Regions from separate parts of the Homo sapiens genome. Here regions 1, 2, 3, 4, 5 and 7 are each linked to region 6. Evidence: promoter capture Hi-C in 16 types of primary human blood cells and fetal thymus (Javierre and others, 2016). All regions are on one chromosome and are shown on one strand. The core of a region is centred on a gene start or on the middle of the fragment in contact, and the rest is flanking DNA. Distances in the headings are between cores, read along the strand shown. Region 1 overlaps ARHGEF28 (Rho guanine nucleotide exchange factor 28). Region 2 overlaps ARHGEF28 (Rho guanine nucleotide exchange factor 28). Region 3 overlaps LOC105379034 (a long non-coding RNA gene). Region 4 overlaps ARHGEF28 (Rho guanine nucleotide exchange factor 28). Region 5 overlaps ARHGEF28 (Rho guanine nucleotide exchange factor 28). Region 6 holds the start of ENC1 (ectodermal-neural cortex 1). Region 7 overlaps ARHGEF28 (Rho guanine nucleotide exchange factor 28).

The links. Contacts are between HindIII fragments. The CHiCAGO score rates a contact against its expected background, and 5 or more counts as called.
Region 1: a fragment that was not itself captured here is called in contact with the fragment with the promoter of ENC1 in region 6 in 6 of 17 cell types (activated CD4 T cells, megakaryocytes, naive CD4 T cells and 3 more); the score reaches 6.8 in activated CD4 T cells.
Region 2: a contact is called between a fragment that was not itself captured here and the fragment with the promoter of ENC1 in region 6, in 1 of 17 cell types (monocytes). The highest score is 6.3, in monocytes.
Region 3: a contact is called between a fragment that was not itself captured here and the fragment with the promoter of ENC1 in region 6, in 1 of 17 cell types (fetal thymus). The highest score is 6.0, in fetal thymus.
Region 4: a contact is called between a fragment that was not itself captured here and the fragment with the promoter of ENC1 in region 6, in 9 of 17 cell types (neutrophils, naive CD8 T cells, total CD4 T cells and 6 more). The highest score is 11.9, in neutrophils.
Region 5: a fragment that was not itself captured here is called in contact with the fragment with the promoter of ENC1 in region 6 in 14 of 17 cell types (neutrophils, naive CD8 T cells, naive CD4 T cells and 11 more); the score reaches 19.6 in neutrophils.
Region 7: a contact is called between a fragment that was not itself captured here and the fragment with the promoter of ENC1 in region 6, in 17 of 17 cell types (naive CD8 T cells, naive CD4 T cells, activated CD4 T cells and 14 more). The highest score is 30.9, in naive CD8 T cells.

The regions. Positions count from the first base shown.
Region 1 is chr5:73,871,387-73,875,245 of GRCh38, reverse strand. ARHGEF28 (Rho guanine nucleotide exchange factor 28) reads right to left here. Exons shown (of 36, transcript NM_001177693.2): 22 at 2,000-2,247. Among named protein-coding and RNA genes, the nearest start is that of LINC02122, 230 kb to the left of the region's middle. The HindIII fragment of the contact is 900 bases long and covers 1,385-2,284 here.
Region 2 is chr5:73,850,435-73,854,338 of GRCh38, reverse strand. ARHGEF28 (Rho guanine nucleotide exchange factor 28) reads right to left here. Exons shown (of 36, transcript NM_001177693.2): 14 at 1,647-1,689. Among named protein-coding and RNA genes, the nearest start is that of ARHGEF28, 230 kb to the right of the region's middle. The HindIII fragment of the contact is 2,096 bases long and covers 1,142-3,237 here.
Region 3 is chr5:73,978,319-73,981,983 of GRCh38, reverse strand. The region is part of intron 3 of LOC105379034 (a long non-coding RNA gene); the gene reads right to left. Among named protein-coding and RNA genes, the nearest start is that of LINC02122, 120 kb to the left of the region's middle. The HindIII fragment of the contact is 1,887 bases long and covers 354-2,240 here.
Region 4 is chr5:73,927,800-73,931,611 of GRCh38, reverse strand. The region is part of intron 35 of ARHGEF28 (Rho guanine nucleotide exchange factor 28); the gene reads right to left. Among named protein-coding and RNA genes, the nearest start is that of LINC02122, 170 kb to the left of the region's middle. The HindIII fragment of the contact is 5,300 bases long and covers 1-3,812 here.
Region 5 is chr5:73,886,862-73,891,020 of GRCh38, reverse strand. It overlaps ARHGEF28 (Rho guanine nucleotide exchange factor 28), which reads right to left. Exons shown (of 36, transcript NM_001177693.2): 26 at 3,342-3,418. Among named protein-coding and RNA genes, the nearest start is that of LINC02122, 210 kb to the left of the region's middle. The HindIII fragment of the contact is 4,754 bases long and covers 1-3,692 here.
Region 6 is chr5:74,638,728-74,642,511 of GRCh38, reverse strand. It overlaps ENC1 (ectodermal-neural cortex 1), which reads left to right and starts at 1,784. Exons shown (of 3, transcript NM_003633.4): 1 at 1,784-2,205. It also overlaps a transcript of HEXB not described here. RefSeq lists enhancers at 85-798, 799-1,514, 1,976-2,335 and a silencer at 1,676-1,935. The HindIII fragment of the contact is 20,564 bases long and covers 1-3,784 here.
Region 7 is chr5:73,906,640-73,910,570 of GRCh38, reverse strand. ARHGEF28 (Rho guanine nucleotide exchange factor 28) reads right to left here. Exons shown (of 36, transcript NM_001177693.2): 34 at 674-1,159. Among named protein-coding and RNA genes, the nearest start is that of LINC02122, 190 kb to the left of the region's middle. The HindIII fragment of the contact is 1,520 bases long and covers 524-2,043 here.

The DNA of each region.
Region 1 (3,859 bases), core at 585-3,084, 770 kb after region 6:
GAAGGATATGAACAGACACTTCTCAAAAGAAGATATTTATGCAGCCAAAAGACACATGAAAAAATGCTCATCATCACTGGCCATCAGAGAAATGCAAATCAAAACCACAATGAGATACCATCTCACACCAGTTAGAATGGCAATCATTAAAAAGTCAGGAAACAACAGGTGCTGGAGAGGATGTGGAGAAATGGGAACACTTTTACACTGTTGGTGGGACTGTAAACTAGTTCAACCATTGTGGAAGTCAGTGTGGCGATTCCTCAGGGATCTAGAACTACAAATACCATCTGACCCAGCCATCCCATCACTGGATATATACCCAAAGGACTATAAATCATGCTGCTATAAAGACACATGCACACGTATGTTTATTGTGGCATTATTCACAATACCAAAGACTTGGAACCAACCCAAATGTCCAACGATGATAGACTGGATTAAGAAAATGTGGCACATATACACCATGGAATACTATGCAGCCATAAAAAATGATGAGTTCATGTCCTTTGTAGGGACATGGATGAAATTGGAAATCATCATTCTCAGCAAACTATCGCAAGGACAAAAAACCAAACACCGCATGTTCTCACTCATAGATGGGAATTGAACAATAAGAACACATGGACACTGGAAGGGGATCATCACACTCTGGGGACTGTTGTGGGGTGGGGGGAGGGGGGAGGGGGGAGGGATAGCATTAGGAGATATACCTAATGCTAAATGACGAGTTAAAGGGTGCAGCACACCAGCTTGGCACATGTATACATATGTAACTAACCTGCACATTGTGCACATGTACCCTAAAACTTAAAGTATAATAATAACAAAAAAATAAAAATAAATAAAAAAACTTGAAACTAATAGCACAATTCTTAAAAGGAAAAATAAACTAGACTTCATCAAAATTAGAAAATGAGAAGACAAGTTACAGATTTAGAGAAAGTTTGTCAATCACATATATGACAAGAACCAATGTCTAGAATATGTAAACAAACCTTAATATTCATCAATAAGAAAACAAACAATCCAATTAGAAAATCAGCAAAAGACATAAACAGAAATTTCACTGAAAGGGATATATAGATGGCAAATAAGCACATGAAAAGATATTTAATATCATTAGCCATGAGGGAAGTGCAACTTGAACCATAATGAGATATTACTTTATACCTCTTAAAATAGCCAAAATTAAAAATAGTGTCAATATCAGATGCTGGTGAGGATGTAGAGAAACTGGATTACTTGTACAGTGTTGATGAGAATGTAAAATGGTACAACCACTCTGGAAAACAGTTAGCAGTTTCTTACAAAACTGAACATACAACTCCCATACAACCCAGAAATTGCATTCCTGGGCATTTATCCCAGAAAAATGAAAGCTTAGGTTTGCACCAAAATCTGCACCTGAGTGTTCATAGCAGCTTTATTTATAAGAGCTAAAAACTGGAAACAAGAAGATATCCTTCAACAAGTGAATGAGTAAACAGTGATATATCAATAGCATGGAATACCACTCAGCATAACTCCCCCATTTTCTGCATACAGACCAACAGCTGAACTCCATCGCTGTAAATGATAGGATGAAACAGCTTCAAAAAACAGTACATTTGGAGAAGATGGCATTCTAGCATCTACCCAGGGAAAGCCATGCTAAAGCAACTGCAGATGGAGCTCCCTGCCTTTCCAAGTGTTGCAGACCACTGTAAAACGTGACATTCAGGTGAATTCCTGATTTTTTTTTCCTTAAGTGGCCCATTCATTCAATAAATATTTATAATATCATGCACTGTTCCAGGTGCTGAAATATAGCAGTAATCAAATAGCCAAGAATCCCTGCCTTACTGGGAGTTACAATCTAACGATGGTAAACACATCCTCAGAATGTCACTATGAATGTTTCAAAATATCATTTTTTTTACTCTTGTTGATGAAAGGGCAGATTTTGATTCAAATCCCACTTACGTCATAAAGGTCAAGGACTTTAAGCTCTTCTTACCTGTTGTACCAAAATATCTCCAATTCGGTCGATCACAAAATTCCTGTCGCTGCCAGCACAGGATTCCTGCCTTCGTTCCTTCATACTGTAGAAGAAATGCCTGTGGATTTCAAGCAACTCATCTAAACAGGGGAAAATTTTATCCACGGTGCTGTGGTCCAGCTGCAGCTCCTCTTTCATGCCTTTCCTGAAGATCTCAGACATGATGAACAGGGTCTGGATGTGATGCATCTCTGTTTGCATTAGCTCTGAAATGTGTGAGCACACATAAGCCTTAAACAAGCTTTAAAAAGCAAGTTTCGCTATTAAACTAAATTAGTAACTCAACACTATATGTTACGCAAATAAAAAAGAAATGTTTAGGAATATCAAGAATATTCCAATATAAAAGTCAACATTAAACATTTCATTCACTCTAAAATATTAAACCATTTTCTTTTATCCAGATATTAAAGAGGACATATATGTCAAGTCCAATATACAAGAATCTAACGTATCTGAAACTCAATAATATAACTAGCTAGCATCTTTAGATACCTTCAGCTAGGAACTAGGTCTTATTCCACCCTGAATGCCCTATGAAATACAACTTAGTTTGTTGGCTTTCTTTCTTCCTTTCTTTATTTGATTTTTGCATTGAGCAGGAGCACAATTAATTTGGTGAAATGAATGGAACTAAAGAAAGTTCTTCAATGCAGATAACCATAGGTCCTTTCTATGGCAGAATCTGTCTCCAAAATTCCACTTTCTCCAGAGGAAAACAATGCATCACAATCAATCAAAGGACATCATCAAGAAAGTGAAAAGAAAACGCACAGAATGGGAGAAAATATTTGTAAATAATTTATCTGATAAGGAACTTGTATCTAGTATATTTTTAAAAATCTTATAACTCAACAATATAAATAAATAAATAACCAATTCAAAAATGGTCAAAGGATTTGAACAGATGTTTCTCCAAAAGGATATACAAATGGCCAATAAGAACATGAAAAGATGCTCAACTCCATTAGCTATTGGGGAAATGAAAATCAAAACCAAAATGACACATCACTTCACACATATTAGGCTAGTTATAATAAAAAAGCAACAAACAGGTATTGGTGAGGATGTGGAGAAACTGGAACCCTCATACATTGCTGGTGGGAATGCAAAATGGTATAGCTGCTTTGGAAAACAGTCTGGCAGTTTCTCAAGTGATTAAACGTAAAGCTACTACTCTATGACCCCAAAAGTGGAAAAACCCAAAATGTCCATCAATTGATGATTAGGAAAACAAAATAGGATATTCATCATCCATAAAAAGGAATGGTGTACCCATACATATTACAACTAGGATGAACCTTAAAAACAGTATGCTAGGTGACAAAAGCCAGCCGCAAAAGACCACATATTGTACTATTCACATAAAATGTCTAGAATAGACAAATCTGTAGAGACAGAAAGTAGACTAGTGTTTGCCAGAGGCTGGCGGAAGGGGTAAATGGGGAGTGACTAGTAACATGTACAGGATTTTTGAAGTGATGAAGATGTTCTGAAATTAGACAGGACCTGATGGCTACACAACTTCGTGAATATACTAAAAACTACTAGATTGTGTACTTGTAAAGGAGTGAATTTTGAGCAGGTGAATTATACCTCAATTTTTAAAACGCATCAGGAGAGAAAATAACAACTCACAATTTACAGGTGCACCAAACGTACTAGTTGTACATTAATGAGTATTTCCAAACTTACCGCAAGTTTTGGGAAAGAACCTTAAATATCAGCCATGGAGAGTCAGCAAGTCTAAATATAGCTTTAATATTTTGTCAAAAATAAAAATTTCTTTAATTGGAAATCTACCAACTTTGAATTATT
Region 2 (3,904 bases), core at 940-3,439, 790 kb after region 6:
AAGGTATAGAGTGAGCTCATTTTTTACATGGATGTCCCCTTTTCTAGAAACTAAGTGATTAATACAAATAAGAGAATATCAAAGAAGGCATCATCTCAGGTAAATACCTGTAACATGACCAAAGCAAAGCATTAGGTATGGCTTGGGATCTTATTGGCATATCCAACAAGATAAGATAGCAGGAATAGAGTGGGTGAGATGAAAGATCCACTCTACTAGATACACCAAGGCATATGACTGAGAGAGTAAGATGCTTTCAGGATGTGGACCAAGAAAGATTAAAGAATAGAAAGGAACAGAAAACAAAAACAAGAGTGACAGAGAACGAAGAACCAGATAAAAAGAAACTTCATAAAGATGCCATCAAAGTGAAAATATTTTATAGGCTACTATTTAGCCAAGTATAACATTGGCTCCTTCGGTCTTAAATCTCTCTCCTAATGACAAATGAATATTTTTTATATTTTTAATTTAAAAAATTCTTGATAACAATCCATTATTTTTCCAGTTGTTAAAAAGATGACTGTTAATCAAAATGATGACCAAGATGAAGATCAAATTCCAGAATGAGGAAGTAAATTGCTTAAATGAGATAATAAATGTAAACTGCTTAAAACAGTACAAGGCACATACAAATGTTCAATATTTGTCAGTAATTACTGCTTTTGCTATCATCATCCTCATTGCCATTGTCACGAAGTCAACTTGATCATCATCCTATCTTTCAAGGGCATTCTTAATCTTCCTCTTTTGTATCATTTGAAAGTTTCTATTCTGGTTTCAAAAAAAAAATAGAAATGATCCAAAGGAGGCTTTTTCTTATTAATACTTTGATTCCAGGATTTAAAACGAAACACCCCATCTTGATCCGTATACTAAAACGTTTAAAACGTTTCAAAGTTTTAGTATTAATCTCAAACAAAATTAAACCATTTCACTCTTTTCAGATGGTCTCTTAAAGTCAAACATGTGTGCCATTCTGGCACTTGTTTTGCATACAACCCTGGGGCTATTTCACAGTGTGACTCATGGGCAGTTAGTTATTCAACACCAACAGAAACCAACAATCATGCTTGCACACTGGTCTGCTTCCCAAGCTATACTCCAACAACAGTTTTACCTTCTAGGAGAAAGAGAAGCTTAGGTTAAATCTGCATCTCAACCAGGAAACTGATCATGCTTAAAAGTCTTCTGCATTGTTTATTCTTTGTTTCCAGCTGAAGGGCTACTAGGCAAAAATCCATAGAGAGACAGTAGGGATGTTTAGGCACTTTCTATCATTGACCACCCAGGGTTCTGTTACTAAAGTAAGTCCCCTTGTCATGGTGGAATAGAGCTGGAGAAAACATGTTGTCTTTCTAAAACAGGTGGTCCCCTCACACTGCTCCCCTTGAGGGTATTTGGCTTTGAAGATACCCAGACAGAACATGCTGTCCCCAATCCTGAGGCCTGCACAGCCAAGGACTGAAAGGGGAGGGCTGGCAGATCTATCCTGATACAGATCCCAGAGGGAGCAAAGGGTCTTAGGCAGGCTTGTTACATGGAAACCTCTCATGAACTAGTGAACAGATAGCAAAAATGATGTGTGGACATTTCCAAAGAAGGATCATGCAGTTCCTCAGGAAAATTGGAATAGTTAAAAGTACCTGTTTTCTCTTGGTGGCTCCGATAAGCTGTAAGCTCTTTGCTCTACAAGACACAGAACAATAAAATGAAAACTAAGGCACACAAACTGGCAGTCATATGTTAGTCTGAAATGCATACTCAACCATATTGTATCATTATACACACTACCAGCTAGAAAATAATGAGAAAATGAGTTACCTTATATAAGTAAGGCATTGCTCTGGATTTTTTTAAATCACTTTCTGTAATTTAAAGAGGGTAGGGAGAAACATGGCCAAAATATGCCAACATTTAATGACTTCATGAACTAAGTTAGCATCAGCAAGGGACAGCAAACATTTTCAGAAGTGCAGAAAATTAGCTCTATCTTTTTGGATACTTTTCACTAGAGTCATCCCTATTCTTCATAACACTAATGCCCTAACATACAGAACCAATAAATAACTGCTTTTAAACAAAGCTCAAATGAAGTCTTGAAGGACAGCATAAGAAGAGTTAATTTTCATATAGCTGCAATGTCCTCATAAAATCCTAGCAGCAGCAAGTTCAGAGATGTGCTCTGTGGCTCATGGGAAAGGGAGGACCATTTTTTTCATTGGACTTGTGGAGGGGGCCAGAAGGGAGGTTCATGCAAGCAGCTTGGAGCCATCTTGTTTCCAGAGTTGAAATACTTACTACAGGGGTGGAGTAGAGACACTGATTTAGACAGTGAGAGAGCCTGAAGGAGGGGGCAGTCACTGTGGAGCACACCATCTACAGGGCAGGGACAAATCCTTCACTCTCACAATCCAGAACAGTGAAGAGGCATAACTAGGTTGCAAAGGGAAATGATACATAAGGAGGAAAACAAATACATATCCCCTGAAATGGGTAATATCAAATGTTGCACCTAATACTATCTTGTATGTAATAGGAAATCTACTTTGAAGAATTTGAAGCCTTTATTTTATAGCCATTATCAAGTGTTCCTCAAATTAAGTCATAGGCAGAACTCACTATTCTTATGGTAAATAGGCTGAAGTACCAAGAGAATAAGCCACCAACTGTTCAAAATCCAATTAAATTCCATCCATCAGCTCACAACGTTTTCAAAAGTATGTTTACGTCATTCCTCAAATTCTTAAATGCTGAACCCCTTTGTCCCCCTTGGTGAGACTGTAGTTATCATTTTAATATTGGCAATGTTCCTTTCTGCCTAAATCTATAATAGACCAAAGGGAATTATAAAACTGGATTTTGTTTTATGTATACAAACATCAAAAATAAAGTTGCCATCATCGTACTCTTGGCTCAAAAAAAAAAAAAAGACGCATGAGAAATTACAGTAAGTAACTCTTTGGAAGTGACAAGGAAGACAGAACATCACAAATAATAATAAAAAGGACCGAAAGCATCCTAGGTTTGTATATCTGCATTACAGCTCTCATATGGGAGCTTCCCTCTGGGACATAAGGAGACTTGGACTCTGTTCAAATAGACCTGAAAATTTTTAGGACTATTCAAAACTCATCAAGAAAGGATTTATGGCAACACAAACCTCAATTTACTTTTGATTAATCCAAGCCGACTAAACAATGAAACATTAGAATATATCTTTGCATTAGGCAAGCTTTCACATTTGTGCTTTGATTACATAAACACAGATAAAATTATTCCTTCTTCATTAGTGGTTAATTTATTTTTCATAGTCCTATGGTATTGACTGACCTAAATGGTATCAATCCAAATGTTTGCAGCCATATAAGTCTATCCACTGGAATTTTCATATATTTAGTGAGTAGACTCAACCTAAATTGCCTGGTTCTAACTGTTACCTTCTGGATAGTATCAAACTTCACTCAAGTAGCCTTGTCTTTAAATATACCGTCTAAAGATAAGGTTTCGTTTACTGAAAACCAAAGCAGTTGAGATCAGCTTTTTATTCTAACTCATATGCAAAGGTTTCAGGCTTGCATGTAAGGTAAAGACACCCTTCCTTGATCATTAAAGAATAAGTAAATTAGGGCTATTTTCCCTTGTGAACAATAAGTTTCCTCTTAATTGTGTGGTCAATAATTTCAAACTCTAGAGATATCTGACTTCATAGATCAAGGACCACAGATCTAAAGGCAAAGCCATAATTTGAAGCACAGAAAACTTAAACATGTTTTCCAAATAGTAACAATGTGAGGTTAATTCATCAGCTGGGACTATCAGTGAAAAGGTGTCGAGCTATTAAAAATACACCAACCTAAACTAAGGCTGGGGAGACCTGGAGACCTAGAAAGAACCCATGAAG
Region 3 (3,665 bases), core at 48-2,547, 660 kb after region 6:
AACAAGAAGGAGAGGACCATGTGCTCTGGGCAAGAAATCAGCCTAGAGCTTAACTCCATCTGTTCCAGTGGTAGGGAAGGGAAAAGGGAAGCATCTGGTTGCAGCTTAAAGCTTCTTATAACCAAGTGAAGTGCCTGCACTCGGCATATAGGAGCCGCATGAAGAGAGAAGGACTGTTACCATCTGCCCTAAGATGGAGACTACCGTCCAGCTATGTGCACCCTGAGACAACTCACTCTCCAATTCTCCACGTTTGAGAATTTCAGGGTGAGTCCTTCCTGCTCACTTCTGATTTTTACCAAAAAGAAGGCCTTTGTCCCAAGGCTTCTCGTCTATTTATTGGTTAACAAGCTTGGTTTCTATTATCTTACAGCCTCCTGTAAAAGGATAAAGGCTCTTTCTCCGGTCCCTAGATGTTATCACCTTGCAGAACAGCGTATGCACACCACTGGCTCACTTCATTTTAGTCTCCTTCCTTCCAGGAAAGATTAAGAAGGTCAGATGTTCTAATTTTCAAGTACTCACTGTCTATAGGATTAATCCCCAACTAGGTTGTTGGGGATGCAGAGATTTTTACATAGGCCAGTGGCTCCCTAGTCTGGATGATTATCAGAATCAACCAGGGTGCAGCCCAGAAATCTCTTGGGGGAGATCTCTCATTTTTAATAGATTCTGCATTGCCTCTTTTGGTAAACATTACTGACTGATTGAATCCAATATCCATTCTCTTCTACCTTGCCACCATTTTCCCAGCCTTGCTGGTGGCCGAGAAAGTGATGGGATTTTGTACTGAACTGTGTGACATAAGCAGAAATCTGGCCACTTATGGAAAGTTTTGCTATGTTGCAAGTAGGGACAGGTCCCTCCCTATCCCCTTCCCATTTCCTGTGCCTTGAAGACAGACTTGATAGCTAGAACTACAGCAGCCACTTTGTGACCATGAGACATGTCAGGAAAGCCAAGGGAATCACAAAGACCTTAGCCAGGACCAAGCCACTGACAAAAGTCAGGAAATATCCAAACTTGTTATGCTTTGAGAAAAATGGACCCCTCTTTAAGCCACCATAAAGTGGGCTTTTAGTTACTCACAGCCGAACACATTTCTAATAAATATACCTTTTCTTTTTCCTTTTTAACTTTTTTTATTCATCTTTCCAGTAGGGTTGGGTAGGATGGGAGCCAGGGATAAAAGGAGGAAGAGAAGGGACAGAGAAAGCCTTATGAGCTGGCTGCTGGTGGAGGGCATGGCCACTGGAGCTGAACTATTTGGGGGCCTGCTGTGTGCTGCTCTCTCACTCTGGACTGGGCATCTTTTCCAGACCTGGCCTGGCACCTTCATGCTGTGAATTACTGTTTCAGATGTGTCCTTCCCAGTCCCTCCATGAGTCCTTTGTGTTCTAGTCCCTCTCCACCTTTTCAACATTTTTTCTAAATGGGAGGTTTCTTAAGGACTACTATGGCTTTAAATTTAAAAAAAAAAAAAAGGCTGAGTGCAGTGGCTCATGCCTGTAATCCCAACACTTTGGGAGGCCAAGGCAGGCAGATCACGAGATCAGGAGATCAAGAACAGCTTGGCCAACATGGCGAAACCCCATCTCTACTAAAAATACAAAAAAAAAAAAAAAAAAAATAGCCGGGTGTGTAGTCCTAGCTACTCGGGAGGCTGAGGCAGGAGAATTGCTTGAACCTGGGAAATGGAGGCTACAGTGAGCCGAGATCATGCCACTGCACTCCAGCCTGGGAGACAGAGCAGGACTCCATCTCAAAAAAAAAAAAAAAAAAAAAAAGAGTGCCATTGGGTAGCAGTAGATGTATTAGTAATCCAACAATACCACTCTAGGGTGACTTTCTTCTTAAACTGTTTTGGGAGCCTGGTTGTATGGAGACAGAGCGGGACTCCATCTCAAAAAAAAAAAAAAAAAAGAGTGCCATTGGGTAGCAGTAGATGTATTAGTAATCCAACAGTACCACTCCAGGGTGACTTTCTTCTTAAACTGTTTTGGGAGCCTGGTTGTATGGCCTTAACCCTCTGGGAGAACAGCCTCCCAAAATATATATCCCTTGGCTGGTTTTTCCTATGAGACAACCATCTGACGAGTGTGGAGTTGAGACAAACCCAATTCCACTATCCACAAACCCAGCTGGGAACGTGGATAGTCCGTGGGAAACAGGCACATCACACATTGGAGTTGTTTGACCAGAGGTCAGAAACTGGTGGTCTCTAGTGAGTCTTTGAAGCTTTGATGGCACTTTTCATAGGCAATCTTGTGCCTGCTCAAATTGGGGTGGGCAGTGGAAAGGTGGGGAGACATGGGGAAGGGGTAATGCCTTTCACTCTCATGCCTGAAGAGAAAGAAACCAATCTTCCAGCTTGGTTTATTGCACTCTCTTGAAAGCCAGGGATAATCATATTCATGTCTCTTTCTGGATAAGCTCTTTATGAGGTTCAGGCTGCCTGCAGTTTTCCCAAAGACTTATCTCAAGCCATTGGCAGACCCGCCTTTCTGCTTCTCCTTCTGACTCCTGCAAAACGAGCTTTTTGCAAAAGGACAACCATTCTGTTTTACGCTTCTCTGTGCTGAAAGGTTTTCCCAAATAGGTAAAATCAACTGATTTCTTTCAGGATATGCTTAATGGTTTCTTCTGAAATCAGCTTTTAAACTTTGTTTTCAGCTATACATCATATTTAGAACACTTAGGAGTCTACAAGAGTCAGAAATGAATAGTTTTCATCTCTAGGTGAATGTGCTTCATATACTGTGATTCTTGGTTGGTCATATGGGACCCTTTTGTAAGGATATTATGATCTTAAAAGAGTAATTGACCTTCCCAGTGTCCTAAAATTTTCCCTGAAGTCAAAGTCCTTCCACTGCCAGGAGATAGAAAATGTGGGCACCTTAAAAATACCTTTTCTGGATATACTTTTACAATAATATGTGTTTCAATGACAATATGGACAGATATGCATGACTGAATGTGAAGAGAATTCTTAGCTCCAAGAAAGACAGGTTGGCAGGGACACTCAAGAAGTGGAATCACAATTCTAGACCTAGATTTAATACCCTCTAGTTTTTTATTTTCCTATTTTAGTTTTGCTGAATCTGTTACCTTTGAATAATAGGGTTAGCTATAATATGAGTTAATATTTTTGAGGCCTTCCTGTGTGTCTAGCATTGCTAAGGCCTTCATATGTGTGCTGCCTTGTTGAATCACTACAGAAGTCTGTGTGGTTAGCAGTAGTACAACCCTCTTCTCCTCATTTTAGAGAGGAGAAAGTTAAGGCAAAAGAAATCCTACATGAGTTATCTAAGGCCCTATATACCAAACCTGCTTCCAGAATCTGTGCCCTAAACCCCTGAGCACACTGCCAAATCCTCTTGCAGGCCCGTTGACATATGTAGAGAAAAGGATACCCTCCACCTCCATCTCCACCCCACTTCCACGGCTGCTGTTGTCGTTGTTAACCTCCATTGCACCTGAGAGATGGCACATAGATTCTCTTCTAAAGTCATTACCCAGTTATTCCTGAAGCTCAAAATTATCTTTTCATACCACACTGTTTCCAATGCCAGAATATCTGAGCAAAACATCTGGGGCATGTTTCTTTCTGCCTGGTCCCACCACTCCTTAGTCTCCTGCATGTTGGAATCCAAGGATGGGACTCA
Region 4 (3,812 bases), core at 988-3,487, 710 kb after region 6:
TTTTTTAAACAATCAATGGAATAGTAGGAGTTAAAGAACAACAAAAAAGCCCCCAGAAAATAGAACAAAAATGTGAAGAAATGGAAATGGATGGAAAATGAAACAAACAGAAAAATCAGAGGATATAAAAGGTCCAATTTCCAACCAGCAACAGTTACAGTAAGAAAAAACTGAAGAGAAGCAATTATTTTTTTAAAAAATAGAATATCTCCCAGAACTGAGGGAAATATACCTCTAAAGTGAAAGAGTCTAATAAATAACCAGTAAAAATGACTTTAACGAAAGACCTCACTGAAACATGTGATAAAATTCAGATAAGGGGACAAAAAAGACAATTCTAAAATTATCCAGAAAGTAAGAACAGGTTACAAACAAAGAACCCAGAATCGGAAAGGCATCAGACTTCTCAATAGCAACCCTGGAAAGTGGAGTCAAACCCTTGGCAACAGGCTGGAGGAAAATAGTTTTGTATTCTAGAATTCTAAGCCCAGACAAATTATTTAAAAAACAAGTGTCAGAGTAGCAAAAATAAAATGAGAAGGACATTTCAGCTAATCTGGAAAAAATTTCCTTTAATCAGACTTTTTCTTAGGGAGGGCCTGGAGATATGTCCAACCAAATAAAGGAAAATACTATAAAGGGGAAGCATGAGACTGAGGGCACAGAGGTTTCAACACAGGAGAGAGAAGGGATGGCCCTGGGTGACCACGCAGAGCAGGCCTGGAGAGCAACAAGTCCATATTGGAACAGAAGTACAGAGGACCCTAAAGGCAAAACTTCCAGGAAAGAAAATGAAGCGGATAGATGTTGACTATATTGAGTATGTGTAAAATAACACTGATAAGTTGAGAGAGGCATAGGAGCTTTGGAGGAAAACATAGCAAGGAGTAAGGGAGAAGGTATGCAAATAAAAAACAAGGCAGATGGTTAGTCTCAGTAGGATGGAACAGCATAGTCAATCACATTTTGAGTAGTTTCTGCACTTGCAGTTGAGTTTTCTCCACCTAGAAAGAGCTTAGTTCTCACGAATGTCCTTTTCGAATCTTAAAGTGTTCACGTGTCATTGTAAACATGATTTCTCTGAAAACCACTCAAAGTACAAAATCTATTAAAGCTATCCCAAAAGAATTAACTTGTCTATATAATTAAGAGTGAACACATTTGAAACTCCAAAATCTGCTGTGAGTCAGAAAAAACTTTTATGAACAGGAAATTCACAGAAGGAGGAACCTAAACAGCCAATAAAAATGAAATGATATTAAATCTCATTGGTAATCAGAAAAGTATGAAAGAACAAGTTACCATTTCATGCCCAGCATATGGGCAAATTTTAGAAGCCTAACAATGCTATGAGCTGGGTAAGATCTGGGGGAACTGGAGTTCTCATATCTTGCTGCTGATAGTTATATTGTACAACAACTTTGGAGCAAAATCAATCATCGCTGGCAACAGTGAAGACATCCTTACCACTTCTAGGTGTTATACTTGAAATAAACTCTCATTCATGTGACTAAGGAGATGTGCATAAAAAGATGTTTACTGCTCTCCACTTCTAATAGGAAAAAATTGGTAAGATCCCGTAAATGCTCCTTAGTAATAAATATACTAAAATTTTTTCATTAAAGTGAAATATAGCAGTTTAAAATGAGCAATTTGTGTCGCATGTATGAATATGAAAAAAACCAAGTTGCAGAAAGTACATATATATTTAAATAGCTATATAAGCGTTAAAAACAAAAAATTATGATATTTTGTTTTTAGATATAAATATGTAGCATTATAAAAATGTAGCGGTAACACAGACACATACTGTGGAAATCATATCCACCAACTTTAAGATATTTGCTAACCCTAAGTAGGAAAAACAAAGGAAAAGATATGGGTAAGGGCCTTTAGCAATATCTGTAACATTTTATTTCTCTAAAAAAGCAAAAAGGCGAAGATCTGAAATAAATATGGCAAAATGGAAACATTTGTTAATTGCATGCCTAATACATAATTTCTATACTTTAAAAATATTCACGATTAAAACTTTCATATTAAAGAATGTATTAAACTACTGCACACAATTGTGTGGTTTTATTTGGATCCTGAGTCAAAAATAAACTGTGAAAAGTATACACACACATAACATTTGTGAAACAACTGGCAATCTAAACATATGACTATATGTTGATATTATGGAATTATTAACTTTTTCTTAGGTGTGATAATGATTTTAAAAAGAGAGCCTTATCTTTTAGAGACAAATACTGAAATGCTTATGGATGAATAAATACTTATAGATACTGTTTAAGATCCGCTTCAAAATAATACAGTATGTATTGGGGGTAGGAGTCTAGAAGAAACACAATTAGGCATAAGTTCCTGATTTTCTGAAGTTGAGTGATCAGAACATGAGTGGCTATTATATTATAATTTTGTATATGTTTAAAATTGTCCATAATACAATCAGGTAGACAAGAAATATGTCAAAGTCAATTTGTAAATAATCAAAACAAATTAAGATAGTCAATCTTGGAGTCTCTGTTAAGAAGTAGGAACTTTTCTCAGGAGGCTGAGGCAGGAGAATGGCATGAACCTGGGAGGCGGATCTTGCAGTGAGCTGAGATCACACCGCTACACTCCAGCATGGGTGACAGAGCGAGACTCCGTCTCAAAATAAATAAATAAATAAATAAAAAGAAGTCAGAACTTTTTCTGAGCGCGCTGAATTAAATGACATACAGGTCATCAACCTCAAGAATGGGGTAGTATTCTCATGACTCTGAATTCCTCTTAAGGCTCTAGAGACCAGGGACTTCTAAGTACCTTGGCAAAAAAGCCAACTTTCTGGGGAGCGGCCTGCCTCACAACCCTACCCACACTAAAAGAGTTATGCCTCTCATTTTGCTGAGAGAAGAAAAATCAAATTCATTTCTCTGCCAGCTGAGTAAGGCAGGAAATCAACCTAGGAATTTTAATGCTGCATTTACTTCTTACTGGTTCAGTAGAGGGAAAAACAGCTGTTAAAATTCTTAAGCATACAAGATGCAATGTTTTTCTTTGAGCCAGAGAAGAAGGCAAGCAATTAAACCTAACACACCCAAGCTAATTAGTTCTACCTGCTTCTTAATAATTATGTTATTACCAGACTTCTTAAAAATTGGCAACCAATTCTTTTTAATTTTTAATTTTTTTGCTGTTGTTGTTTTTTGAGAAAGAGTAGGACTATGTCACCCAGGCTGGAGTGCAGTGGCGCGATCTCAGCTCACTGCAACCTCCACCTCCCGGGTTCAAGCCATTCTCCTGCCTCAGCCTCCCACGTAGCTGGGATTAAAGGCACCTGCCACCATGCCTGGCTAATTTTTGTATTTTTAGTAGAGACGGGGTTTTACCATGTTGGTCAGGCTCTCGAAAGCCTGACCTCAAATGAGCTGCTGGCCTCGGCCTCCCGAAGTGCTGGGGGTACTTCTAAGGTCTACAAATGATTGTTTTTTCCTCTTTATCAACTACAAAATTATGAGATGTCAAAGAACTTACATACCTATTCTGGTTTGAGAAATTGATATTCACAGTATTCAGGAAAACATAAAACTTTTTTCCTTTTAAAAATGAAAAACATTATTTTTTTAATTCTTATTTGTTTGAAATGACATCTGCTAAGAAACCAAACCCTGAAACATCTTTCCGAACCACAGCCACAGCCTTGCGTTTGTCACTCGTAAATGATTATAATCTTAAAAGTACAACCTAACATATAGACTGTGTTTCGTTTAGTGCAGATATGAATACCCTCAGGTGTTCTTTTTACATTTAAGTTTGTTATAAGA
Region 5 (4,159 bases), core at 66-2,565, 750 kb after region 6:
ATTTGGCATGTACGCCATGATTAAACCACCTCTTCTACCAACATCTACTGTGATCCTCCAATGTCTTTTTCTAAACACTGGGGATTCAAAGAGGAACAGCACACTGATGATGCTTGGTAGGTAGATGTAGTTGAAAGAATGGCCAAAAGAATGACTTCAAGATGAACAGTTTGGGGGATAATATGAAGAATTCTTCTTTGGTCTGTGGCTTCCACCAGTGTTTACAGAGCTGGTTGCAGTGTGTGGTTTTGCTTCACCATCATGGACTGAGCGACGCCTTTATCCAGAACATGCCACTGTTCCCTCACTGCTGACTCCTTGGTGCTGGCTTGTCGGCTTTCCCAGCATCATACAGCTTGGCCATATCAGAGGCTGTGTGCCATGGTGACCCAGAGTACCTCCTCACCCCACGCTTCTCAGAGTAGCATGAGAGTAAAAATATAATGGGACAAGACCACTAGTCTATACAGCCTGTGCTCAGCCTCTGAAAATGGAAGCAAAAGCAGCCCCATGGCAGAGTTGTTGGAATACTGCCCTCTCTAATTAGGGAGATCCTTGGAGCATTGTTAATCTGGCTTATTCTATTATGGACCTACTCCCTTATCTGTTTCCCTGATGCAATGTGCAATGTACTTTATAGCTTCCTCAGCTGACAAGGTAAACAGCCTCTGTATGTAAAAAGGCAGAGTAGGTTTACTTGCTTAAGACATGAGCAAGAGTGCAATTATTTGAACCAGTTGGTTAGTGTTGCAGGGGAGGGGAGGTGGCAGGGTAAGATCTTTTCAAAGTGAAGAACAGGTAAGTGCAAGGAAAGTAGCATTCATTCGATCACCATCAGACCAGGGGGCATGGGAACCTGTCCATCGGTATTCATACTAACCACGCACAAACACTGGAGATGAACAAACATTCAAATTAACTCTCCAGGAATGGAAGTACCATGTCTGCCTTGGAGGTAGATGTCAAACACTAGTAATGCAAAGGGCTAACCCAGCTTGCAGAGATGTTTTATTTGTGCCACGGCATTTAACAAACAAAGTTTAAAAATCAGTTCTCAGCATTTAAATACTAGAGGATTTCACTTTTTAAAAACTTTACATTTCTGGGTTCTTGGGGAAAGCAGAAGATGAGCAATCCTGGGCCCATATTCTCATTTTAAAACACTGGCTATAGCCAAGTAATCCCTGACATCTTTGAGACAGGGCACAGACTCACTTTTCACTACAGTCCCTACAACTTTCTATTGTCTCATTGCTTCTGACCCTATCACATTCACTCAATCACATTTCTGCCCAATGCCTACAGGCATTAGGAGTTGAAGACCTCTAATGTAGGAGAAGATGAAAGGAGCTGCCATGCTTAGCTGTATTGTTACACCGTATCCATTTTGTGCTGATTCTATTATCCAGGGATTGCATTGTGATAAAGAGATTTTAAAGCTGCTTCCTATTTGGAACTTCAGCCTGCAGGTCCACATGTTCACTGTCTTGGTTGTTTGCTCCTTTTGAATTTGCCTTCTTTGATGTTCAAGAGATTCCTCCTAGACTCAGTATTCTAAGACTTAGTGAACACATCTACTTTTTCTTAACACATTTTGTAGGTTTGGGCTCTGCCCCAATTTCCAGCTGAGTCCTTTATAAAAACAAAAACAAAGCAAAACTGTCTTGTAGGGACCCACTACTCCATCCTCTTGCTACTTTAACTGCTTATCTTCTGGCTACTTCCAAATTCATCACGTTTTCTGTAACATGCAGCAAGACAAGCACCTAGGGAAGAAGTGTTTTCTAAAGGGCACAAGGAGTGGAGAATCTCACTTGTACTAGCTTGAGGAAAACTTTCTAAAATTCTAGGATGGGAGCTAGGAAATCCAGATATCTGTATATCCCTAGCCAAATGCTTCAATTTCCTACAGTGTTAACTATAAGATATTTGTGACACATGGGCTATTGTCAGATAGATGTAACTCAGGAGTGTATGAACAGTAGGGTGCACCTGACTCTTCAAGGATAAAATGATGCTTTCTCTTTTGCTCTCTGATACCACCAAGGGCTTAGCTGTCATTTATGAATGCAGTTACATGTCAGGTTAACACATTTAAGAAATAGTATCAGTATAGCCAAACACATTCCACCAAGAAGAGCTAGGTTGTAACTGTCTTCATTCTGCCATTTGGTGGATTGCATTCCTAATACCTCACTTAATGGTAAATGTTGTCTATGGGTAGCACAGATAATGCCTCAGGAGGTCATATGAGACAAGAGGGAAAGAATCATATTTCCAGGCGCGCTCTAAGTTGAGCATTACAGGATCTGAATCCATATGCTACCTCGTCCTAAAAAACAAGGTAGTTGTATTTATATTATCTACTTCATGATCAGTCAGCAGGACATCTGTCCGGTAATATCATCCAAGAAGCAGAATTTGCTTTTCTTTTAGGTCTTTGGTTTTAAAGAAGCATTGGTTTCTATAAAGATGTGAATTTGTTTCCTGTTCCTACATGGCCCTCACCATCCCACAGGTTAAACAAAATGGTCCCCACCTTCCCACTTATTTCTCAGGTTCTTTAAGAGAATCTCAAGCATCTCAGGTAACAGCATTGAGAAGCTGCTGGACAAACCAATAGGTTTTCATGAAATTTGTAATACAGTTCAAATTGATTGGGAACATAGAGACTTCTTCAAGCCTTCTTATTATCTATATGCTAGCAATTAGATTACTCTAACACACTACAAAAATAGTTTCATACACTGTCTTTAGAAGCTACTATAGTAAAAATAAGAAAGAATCTTCTGTCAACATTAGGCATCAGGATGGTATCCCTTGTCTGGCAGAAGGCACACGATGGCAGTCACGGGGTTAGTAAGTGGGAGAGCAGGGCCAATGGGCATGGAGAAAGCCAGGTGCTGGAAGAGATTGGCTGTGCCCAGCATTCACATTTTAGTTGCTGGATCTAAGGGAAGGGGTTTGGGGGCCGAAGGGGCGGGGAAGAGAGGAGTCTGGAGGAAAGACCAAGATAGCTAGATGGCGTGGGGACATTTGGGAGGCTCAGGGCAATGCCTGTTCACCAACCACTACTGAAGGACTGCAATATTCTCACAGTTGGCTACACTGCTGAACCAGCTGAGTACCAGCCCTGGTTGTGATGACGCAACACTTACTATGCTAATTTAACCTAATGAGATGCTTGTCTCTAAACACTGCAATCACAAGTAATAATGGAAACATAACAGAAGCATATACTTCCCTGTGACTATTATATTTCACTAGGAATTTTAGGTATTTTTCAAGAAAATGTGTGGTTAAACCTATTTTTTAAATACATCACACAGTCATATACTTACAACGGCTGCAAAGATGTATTTCTGGTCTTTTTCTTGTAAAAAGAGCAGCACATCAGTTAGAAGTAGAGCTAGGATATCTTTAAAGAAAAAACATTACTAGTATTAATGAAGCAAACCACAGTTCAAATAAACTGAATAAAAATCAAAAGACTAAGATTTAGTCTAAGTATGAAAGTTTTATAAAAATACCTGTATTATGATAGCCAAAGATATATGCTATTAATAACTTAATAGAAAGCTGTCTTTAAGTGTGCATGTTTGTGTGTGGCTGTAGGTATAGGTAAATCTCCAGCAAAGTTTAATGTAGTCACTTTCAAAACAGAAGAAAAATATCCATTAAAAAAGGAAGCTTTAATAAAATGGAGCAAACTCTTACCTTCGGCAGGAAAAGTGCTGAATTAAAAATGTAAAAGGGCAGCTTCTACCTCAAATTATATAGGCCTGCTATTTTGTTTCATCTAGATCTGAGCAAGGTTTAAGATTCCATACTTCCCTTACACATTGTTCACAAGAACTCATCTTCATTGCACCCACTGAATAGTCTAACACAAAGTTACCAAACTGATTCTATTAAATGGATAAACAGCAAATGACTTCGAGCAATAGAATCTACAGGTTGTGGTTAATATTTTTTTCAATACAACATTGCTAGTTGTTGATCAACAAATCCCATTTCAGATATTAGTTGCAACCTCCATCCAAACTTGATCATCCTCCAATGGGTAATAATTTTTGAGTAGCTAGAATTTAACAACCTCTTCCTCTCACTGCCTACCTATGGATGTTATTAAGATGAACTGTTAGAAACAGTGGTTCTT
Region 6 (3,784 bases), core at 535-3,034:
AAACATGTTTTAAAAAGACATATGTGCAATAGTTACACATTTCCGCCTCCCATCTTTTCAGCACCTATCTCTGGAGTCTACAGAGTTTCCATCTGTCTGGTCTTTGCTTCAGAACCTGGGTGCTGCTTGCCAGCCCTCTCCTAACCTCGCAGCCCCCCTGGCTCTCCATACGTGGTTCTTGACATGAATTGATCCGGGCTGTCTCTGTGAATCAGCCTCAAGCCGAGACTCTGCATTAAAAAATATATATATTGAAAGGTTCGTGGTGAGGCTGCCGAGTTAATGCTAACAAAGGACTTCAGAGGGCACTGTCTTTCTTTGTTTGCAAGGAGCGAAATTTCTCGGCGCAAATACCAGGAAGGAACAAGGATAAAGGAAAATGAAATTAGAATGAAGAACTGACAGTCTTGGTTTCAGCAGTCTGGACTCTGGAAGCGCCATGTGGGGCCTCCTTAGCCAGTTTAAATCGCTCCTGCGCCTAGTGTTTTAAAGCAAGCTGGGAGGCGAAGCGCGGGCGCTTGGGGACGCGGGGACCCGGGGACGGAATAAACTCTGTCGTGGGGCCCTCACTCTCGAGCTGCAGAGCTGGGACATTGTTGCTAAGTGACTACGAGCCAGGCAATTCACATCTCCCTGGGCCTCGGTTCCCCACCTGTAAAACAAGGGGGCTGGACCGGTCATCTATCCCGTTCATTTATAGACTTAGCTCCAAATACCGAATAAAAGACAGATATTTTAACTCCCAGTGGAAAGACAAGCCTCTAGTTGCAAAGATAAATGGGATTCGTAAAAGTGATCACCACGCGAGATTATTTTTCGAATCGCCTTCCCTTCTCCTGACACGCGGGACTATTAAACGTGTGTGTGTGCTGGGCCATTTCTTTACTGAACTCCAAACTAACACCACCGAGCGATAAAAAACAGGAGAAGGTGATGGAGGCTTAATCGCTAGGAGAGGAGGCGGCGTGGCTGCTGCTTTGAGGAGTTCACTTTGAATCAAGCGGCCGCGGCGATTGGCTGAAAAGCACGTGGTGCGCGCCCCGCAGGACTGCGCCCCGGCTGCCCCTGCAGTCGCCTGGCTTAGGGCAGAGTCCAGCCGGGGGTGCCGCACCCACTGGGGAGTGGGGAGGGAGGACACATAGGAAATGCCTGGGGCTGGAGTCTCTTTGGCTCTCTGCCAGCAAGAAACTTAAACGTCCTGGCTTGCTCAACCCGAGTGTCCCTAAACTGTCCAGACTTTTGCCCGTCCATTGCCACTATCTCTCCCCACTCTGGGTGTCCTACCCAAGGCGCTGTCTATGCGTGCCCAGGGCCTGTCCTGCGGATACCCAGCTCGCCCCTTGCAGCCCTTTTTAGAGCATCTCGCGGGCTCTGGCATCACCAAGCGCACAGCCCCGGGCTGCGCTCCCCTAAGGTGGGTCCCTCAGATCCGGGGCTGTCCATTAACCAGGCTGGCCCAAAGAGGCGCAGACACTCGAACCCGGGAAAACTTATTTTATTCTCGGTTCCCGGGGTTGCAGCTGCCAGCGGCTGAGACAGTGCGTCCGCTTTGTCTCTCTGCACTCCCCGCAGCCCCCCTCTCCCGCTTCCTCTCCCGATTAACTCCCCCGACACGCTCTTCTCTAGCTCCTCTCCTCCTCCCACTCCTTCTCCTCCTCTTCCTCCTCCTACACCACAGGCCGCGCTAATGCGCTTCCTCCCTCCCCCGGTGTCGGTCTCTTTGCATACGCGCCCCCTCCCCTCCCCGCCGCGCCACTTATAGCGGGGCGCACGGCGGCGGGGCGCAGACTGCTCTGGCAGCCGGAGAGGAGGCGGTGCGGCGGTGGCGCTGCGGAGACCCGGTCCAGACGCCTGGCGGCCGCCGGCACACAAGGCGCTTTCTAGCTCCCTCCCCCGAGCGCACAGCCCGCCTCCTTCCGCGGCGCCTGCAGTGGCAGGCTTGCTCTGCCCTACCGTGACGCGCTCCGGAGACGCTCTGCGGGTCCTGGACACCGGGTCCGCGGCGTGGGGACGACAGACGGAGGCGAACGCCATCGGTAGCCGGTCCGCGAGCCATCGTTCGGGGCGCAGTCCTCTCCCCGGCTGGCCCTCCTTTCTCCGGGGCATTCGCCACCGCTTCCCTGGGCTGAGACGACCGGTTCGTCGCCTCCTTGCCCGTGACCGTCGCTAGAACTCAGTTGTGCGTTGCGGCCAGTCGCCACTGCTGTAAGTTTCCCCCACTGCCCCGGACCTGTTGCAGGCGCTGCGGGCTTCAGGGGCTGCTTCGGCTGCAGGGGTGTGTTCGCGAGGGGTGAGCGTGCTCCGAGCACTCGGGAGCTTCGACTAGAGGGCAAGGGGAGCTCTTCTCGGTGCGGAGATCACGGTGCCCGCCGCTGCCCTCCCACAGCAGGCAGAAGCCGGGCATCGCCGGAGAGGTCGACCGGCCTCCCCTCCGCGGTGCAATGTCTGGGGCGAGCCGCTGGGGAAGCGAGGAGCCGAGCTAAGGATACAGTCAGCCTCTCTCCTCTGCGGAAAGCAGCGCTTTCCTGGGGGTGAATGTCGCGCTGCGTCGCTCCCCGCAGCCTCCAGGGCCGAGCGCGCGGGATGGTTGGCCCACGTTGCATCCTCCCCGGCTTGGAGGAAAGTTGGGGCCATGCACAGACACCCTGAGTGCGGGCATGTTCACTGCGGCGGAAATGTCTATAGAGAATGAATGAAAACTGCTTTCTGAAAAACTAGTTTCTTGATCTGTCGTGTTAACATTATTAGTTACAAAGGATAGGAATTGGTGGGCCTGGAGATGAAACACTGAATTTATCCACATGCGGTTTGGTGTCACACAGGCATGGCCAGCTTGTTAAATAGCGTTGCAAGTGTTAATAAAAAGACTCTGGCAAGAAGCTACTTTTGTTAACAAGATCTTTATAATGTTCTATTGTTACCGGTAATGTAAATGCCCAGAAAAAAATCTGCTTAGTTTCTCTTTTGATTGGATTGAGATCAGGTTCAAAACCTGGAGAAGGGTGCGGGACGCTAAGCATTGGAGGCAGAGAGCCTGAGTTAGGAGCATGAAGTGAACTGAAGTTACTGTAACTGAAGCCCTTTTGATGTTCACAGTAATAGCAGCCCTTTCTCTGTCTTCTTTGCAGACGTAGGTTAAGTACATGTGTGCATTTTCTTGGCCACTTACTTGGTATGCAAATGTGATTTCTCTGGGGGCTTAAAAATGCTCGAAAGATGATTCATTTTATGTTGAAGGTGTGTTCAGTGACTTGTATACATGGTTTCTGCTGATATTTTGAGGTTTGCACAGTTTTAAACCAGAAAGCAAGTATTTCCTCTTGGGTTTCCAAGTTTACTTTTTATTTTAATCAAACATTGTTGCAAGAATGTTGATTGTGATTTTGACTGTGACGTGCTTTTCCATCTGGGTGGTATCCAAGATGACAGGCTAGGCTCTTCCTTCTGGCTTGTTGGGCCAACCTGGAACATACAGGAGCATAAACACAGGATGCGGAGAGATGTAGATCCTATATCCTAAGGTCTTCTAAGCAAATTGTTTTCTTAGGTGTAAGTCTGGTTGTGAATGTTGTTTTGCACCATCCTGAATTTAATGTTCAAGGAAATGTGTTCTGGGCCTAGCATGATTCCAGCTCAATGTGTAAGCATTTTGGTGCCTGTGCACCTAGTTTCAGGGAGCCTCATTCTTCCTTCACTCAGGGCAGCATTTGCTCTGAGAGAGGCGGCAGATTCACAAGAGTAAGTAGACAGTCTATTGAGGTTTAGGTTTAAAGTCTTCCTCCAG
Region 7 (3,931 bases), core at 34-2,533, 730 kb after region 6:
GTCCTTCAAATACTGGAAAAAGAGCACGCTCGCAGTGAGTGTGCCTCCAGGACAAACCCACCCTGGCCTTTCTAGGACAACTTGATTCTGTGTTTGTTCCTTAGGGTAAGGGCATCTCAGGCAGAGTGCAGTGATCCCATAGGACTTGGGCCCTCACATTGTCCTTTTTTTTTTTTTTTTTTTTTTTTTGAGATGGTGTTTTACTTTTGTCACCCAGGCTGGAGTGCAATGGCGTGATCTCGGCTCACTGCAACCTCCGCCTCATGGGTTCAAGTGATTCTCCTGCCTCAGCCTCCTGAGTAGCTGGGATTACAGAGGCCCGCCACCAAGCCCAGCTAATTTTTGTATTTTTAGTAGACACGGGGTTTCACCATGTTGGCCAGGCTGGTCTCGAACTCCCAACCTCAGGTGATCTTCCCGCCTCGGCCTCCCAAAGTTCTGGGATTACAGGCATGAGCCACCGCGCCTGGCCCGCACTGTCCATATTTTAAGTCAAAATGGATATGCGTTATCTCTGAAAGCTTCCAGCTTTGGCTACCTACAAATTGAAAAATCCTCATGAGGTCTTCTTACACAAATCCAAAATGACAGATGTTTGGTTAGTGTCCTAGGAGCCCCCAGGCCCACCCCTGTCTTTGAGAGGCTGCCTCACAGCACCGCAGAAGGTCCATACCTCGGGGCCACCCGGAAGGAGCACCGCGGGCAGGCTCCTCTGCCGGCCGTGCTTCCAGTGGCCCAGCAGGCTCTGCTGGGCCCGCATCCTCGCCTGCTCCCTCTCCACCAGGCGCTGGCCCTCCCTCAGCCGCTCCAGGCTGTGCTGGTACTCCTGGAGCTGGAGGTCCAGCTCGCCCCGGCTCCGCAGCAGCAGCTCCTCCTGCGACTGGCACTCCCGCTCCCGCTCCTGCAGCCAGCTCTCCCTGGTCGCCTGCGCCCGCTGCTGCTGCTCACACCTGCGCAGCCAGCGCCGCTGCTCCTGCTGGAGCTGGTGCTGAAGCTGGTGCACATTGGCCAGCTCCTCATGCTGCCTGTCCGCGTCGCGAGACTTCTGGTCCTGCAAGGGGCCGCCTCGGAGGATAGAGTGGCCGAGAGACAGGCCCTCCTGCTGCTGGAGAACCAGCCTGTGGATCTCAATGTGGCTGTCCTGAATGGTCAAGGCGGCCTGTCAGAGCAGACAGAGGAAAAATCACTGAACACAAGGTTCCATGGTTATTGTTTACCCTTTCGGTTGGAACTACCTCGAAACACAAAACGCAGGCCCGAATTCACTTCTCTTAATATTTCTGGCCTTTTTCTAAGTTACCTCCAAAGGCAAGGTTTTTGGCGTTCCAGAGAGGTGTGTCTACATCTGTCCTAGGGGTAGGACCTGTGAATTTATAGAGAAAAGAAACAAAGCCCAAAAGCAATATCATCCTCTCCTGTGGGAAGGTAGTTTGCTGCTGGTGGTTGGGTGATAGTTAAGCGAGTCTTCTGAATACGAACTCGGCACATAAATTCACAAGGCTGTGCATTCCTGTCCTACATCTCACTCTCTTGCTGAGGTCTCTCCCTAGTCAATCATTCATGAGAACTTAAGAATCCACATAAACCTAGTAGTATCCTTCCTTTGAGTCCCAAACCAGAAATTACTTGAGCTACATTGCATTATGAAGACATAAAAATAAAAAACAACTATTTGGAGACTTTAGGTAAATAATGTTTTTATAACATAATGCCTAAGAATAGCAGTTAATACCATTTTTAGGAGATATGTAAGTGGCTAAAGCTAGTCTCATTACTGTTATATCTTTGTATTATAGCAGGAAGGTCATGCACAAAAAACTAAGCTGAAATTTATTTGTTTAATAGATCGCTAACAGGAGGCTGAAATGATTAAGGGAAAATAGATACTCTAAAGCCCAGAGGACATTACCAACCAGATTAAAAAAACATTTTGAGTTACGGTATCTGCCTATGAAAAGTTTGGCAACATCACAGGAAATAATTACCAAGATTTGGAAGGATTCCACAAAACCAAAGAGATCTCTGTGAATGCCCTTGGAAGCTTTTAATTTTAAAAGTTCCCATTTAGAGTGCAAAGCAGTACAGAAGGGACAAATTGAAAATGGACACATACTGAGTATGTGTGTATGTTTTGACCCCATATGAGAAATCATTTCTCTCCTAGGGATAAATTCACATTTTTCCTTCCTAAGAATTTTTTAAACTGTCCATATAACAGATGTTGGGAAGATGGGGATTTGACCATATGTTCTTTGTCAGCTCAGCAGTTTCCTATACTTTTGAAAGTTAAAGAACTAAGGTATATTTTAAATTCATACTTGTCTTGGAATACGACTCAAAAATGTATTCACTGGGGCCTTTTGAACAAAAATTCATATTTTTAAATTTGGAAACTAATCTTTAAAATTTCAGACACATGAATATTTAGTGGCTTTTGGGAGTTGTTATAAATAAAACAATGATTATCATCCAGAATAGGTATTAATTACTATGATCTTTAAATATGAAATAATTAGCACACAATAAGCCACTCAGGACTCTGTTGATCTGGCTAAAGAAAATTGTAGACTATACATCACCACTTAATTCTAATAAATCTTTAGGGACCAGTATGGTAAGACAAACAAAAATCCCATACTTTATATGTCAAAACTACCACAGACAATAACTCTCACGTAAGAGTTACAGCTACAGTAATTAAGTGCTTCTGTGAGGTATTCTTCATGTCTATCTAACATTTGGGATAAGGCCATTCTTTTCCCTTGCATAGAGCTGGAATCTGAAGATCGGATATTCATCTAAATTTAAATATTCATTTAAAGCTAAATGAATAATCTTCACACTTAAAGTTTACATTTATATTTAGGACAGAGAACAGCACTTGCTTTTCAAGTTTAGGGAAATTCCCAATTCACTCTCTTAACTTTACTTTGCTAGAATATCTGTGTCTTTTCCTTTTAGCCCTGTCTATGCCTCATTTCTAACTCTATTTTCCTGATATAGGGATCAAATTTCATTCCACCTGATTCAAAATTGTTTATGTAAAAACTTCAGTCACATATAAGACATTCAGCTTCAAAAAAGACGACTGTGCCATGAACAGAAATCTTTCAAAGCCCATGGCCTTGGACCAGCTCAGATTAAAATAATTCACTGTAGACTTTGATATTTCCCATGTTGGTTTAACCTAATGTGTTGCAAAAATTAGGTCATTCAGGTGATCCAGCTTTTCCGAACCTTGAATCTACACAGGGCTGCATTCAGGGTTGAAAAGAAGACACATGACCTTGTGAGTGTTTTCATCCGGCAACACTAGCCAGGATGCTCAATGTTTTCATCCCCCAAGTTAATGGCTGGTGCTCAAACTGTATCCCTTCCCAGCTGACATTTAAAAGAAAGATTAGTTGTCTTACATGATACATTGATTGCTAAGAACATCAACTCCAGAACCTCACATCTAACCTAAGACACTAAAAGCATTCTCACTAAATCTTGAACAAGACAAAGAGCTTGCTATTACCACTGTGATTTAACACATTTTCAAAAGTCCTAGCCTAAGCAGTAAGCCAAGAAAATGAAATTCATGTAATTATTGACAAATAGCCATAATATCATTATTTTCTAATTTTTATTTTCTACCTGGAATACTTCAAAATATCAATGGAAAAACTATTAAAATGAAAAATAAAGTTCAATGAGTTTACCAGTTACAATATAAGTACCCCAAAATCAATACCTTTATTTATATTAGCAACAACCACTGGGGACACAAAATGAAAAAAAAAATTATTCACAATAGCAGCAAAGAGACATATGAATAAACTTAGTGAAAAAAATACATATACACGCATATCATACCATATGAAGACAATTACAAAGCTCTCCAGCAAATCATAGAATAAGAGATGACTGACCGATGTTCTTTTATAAG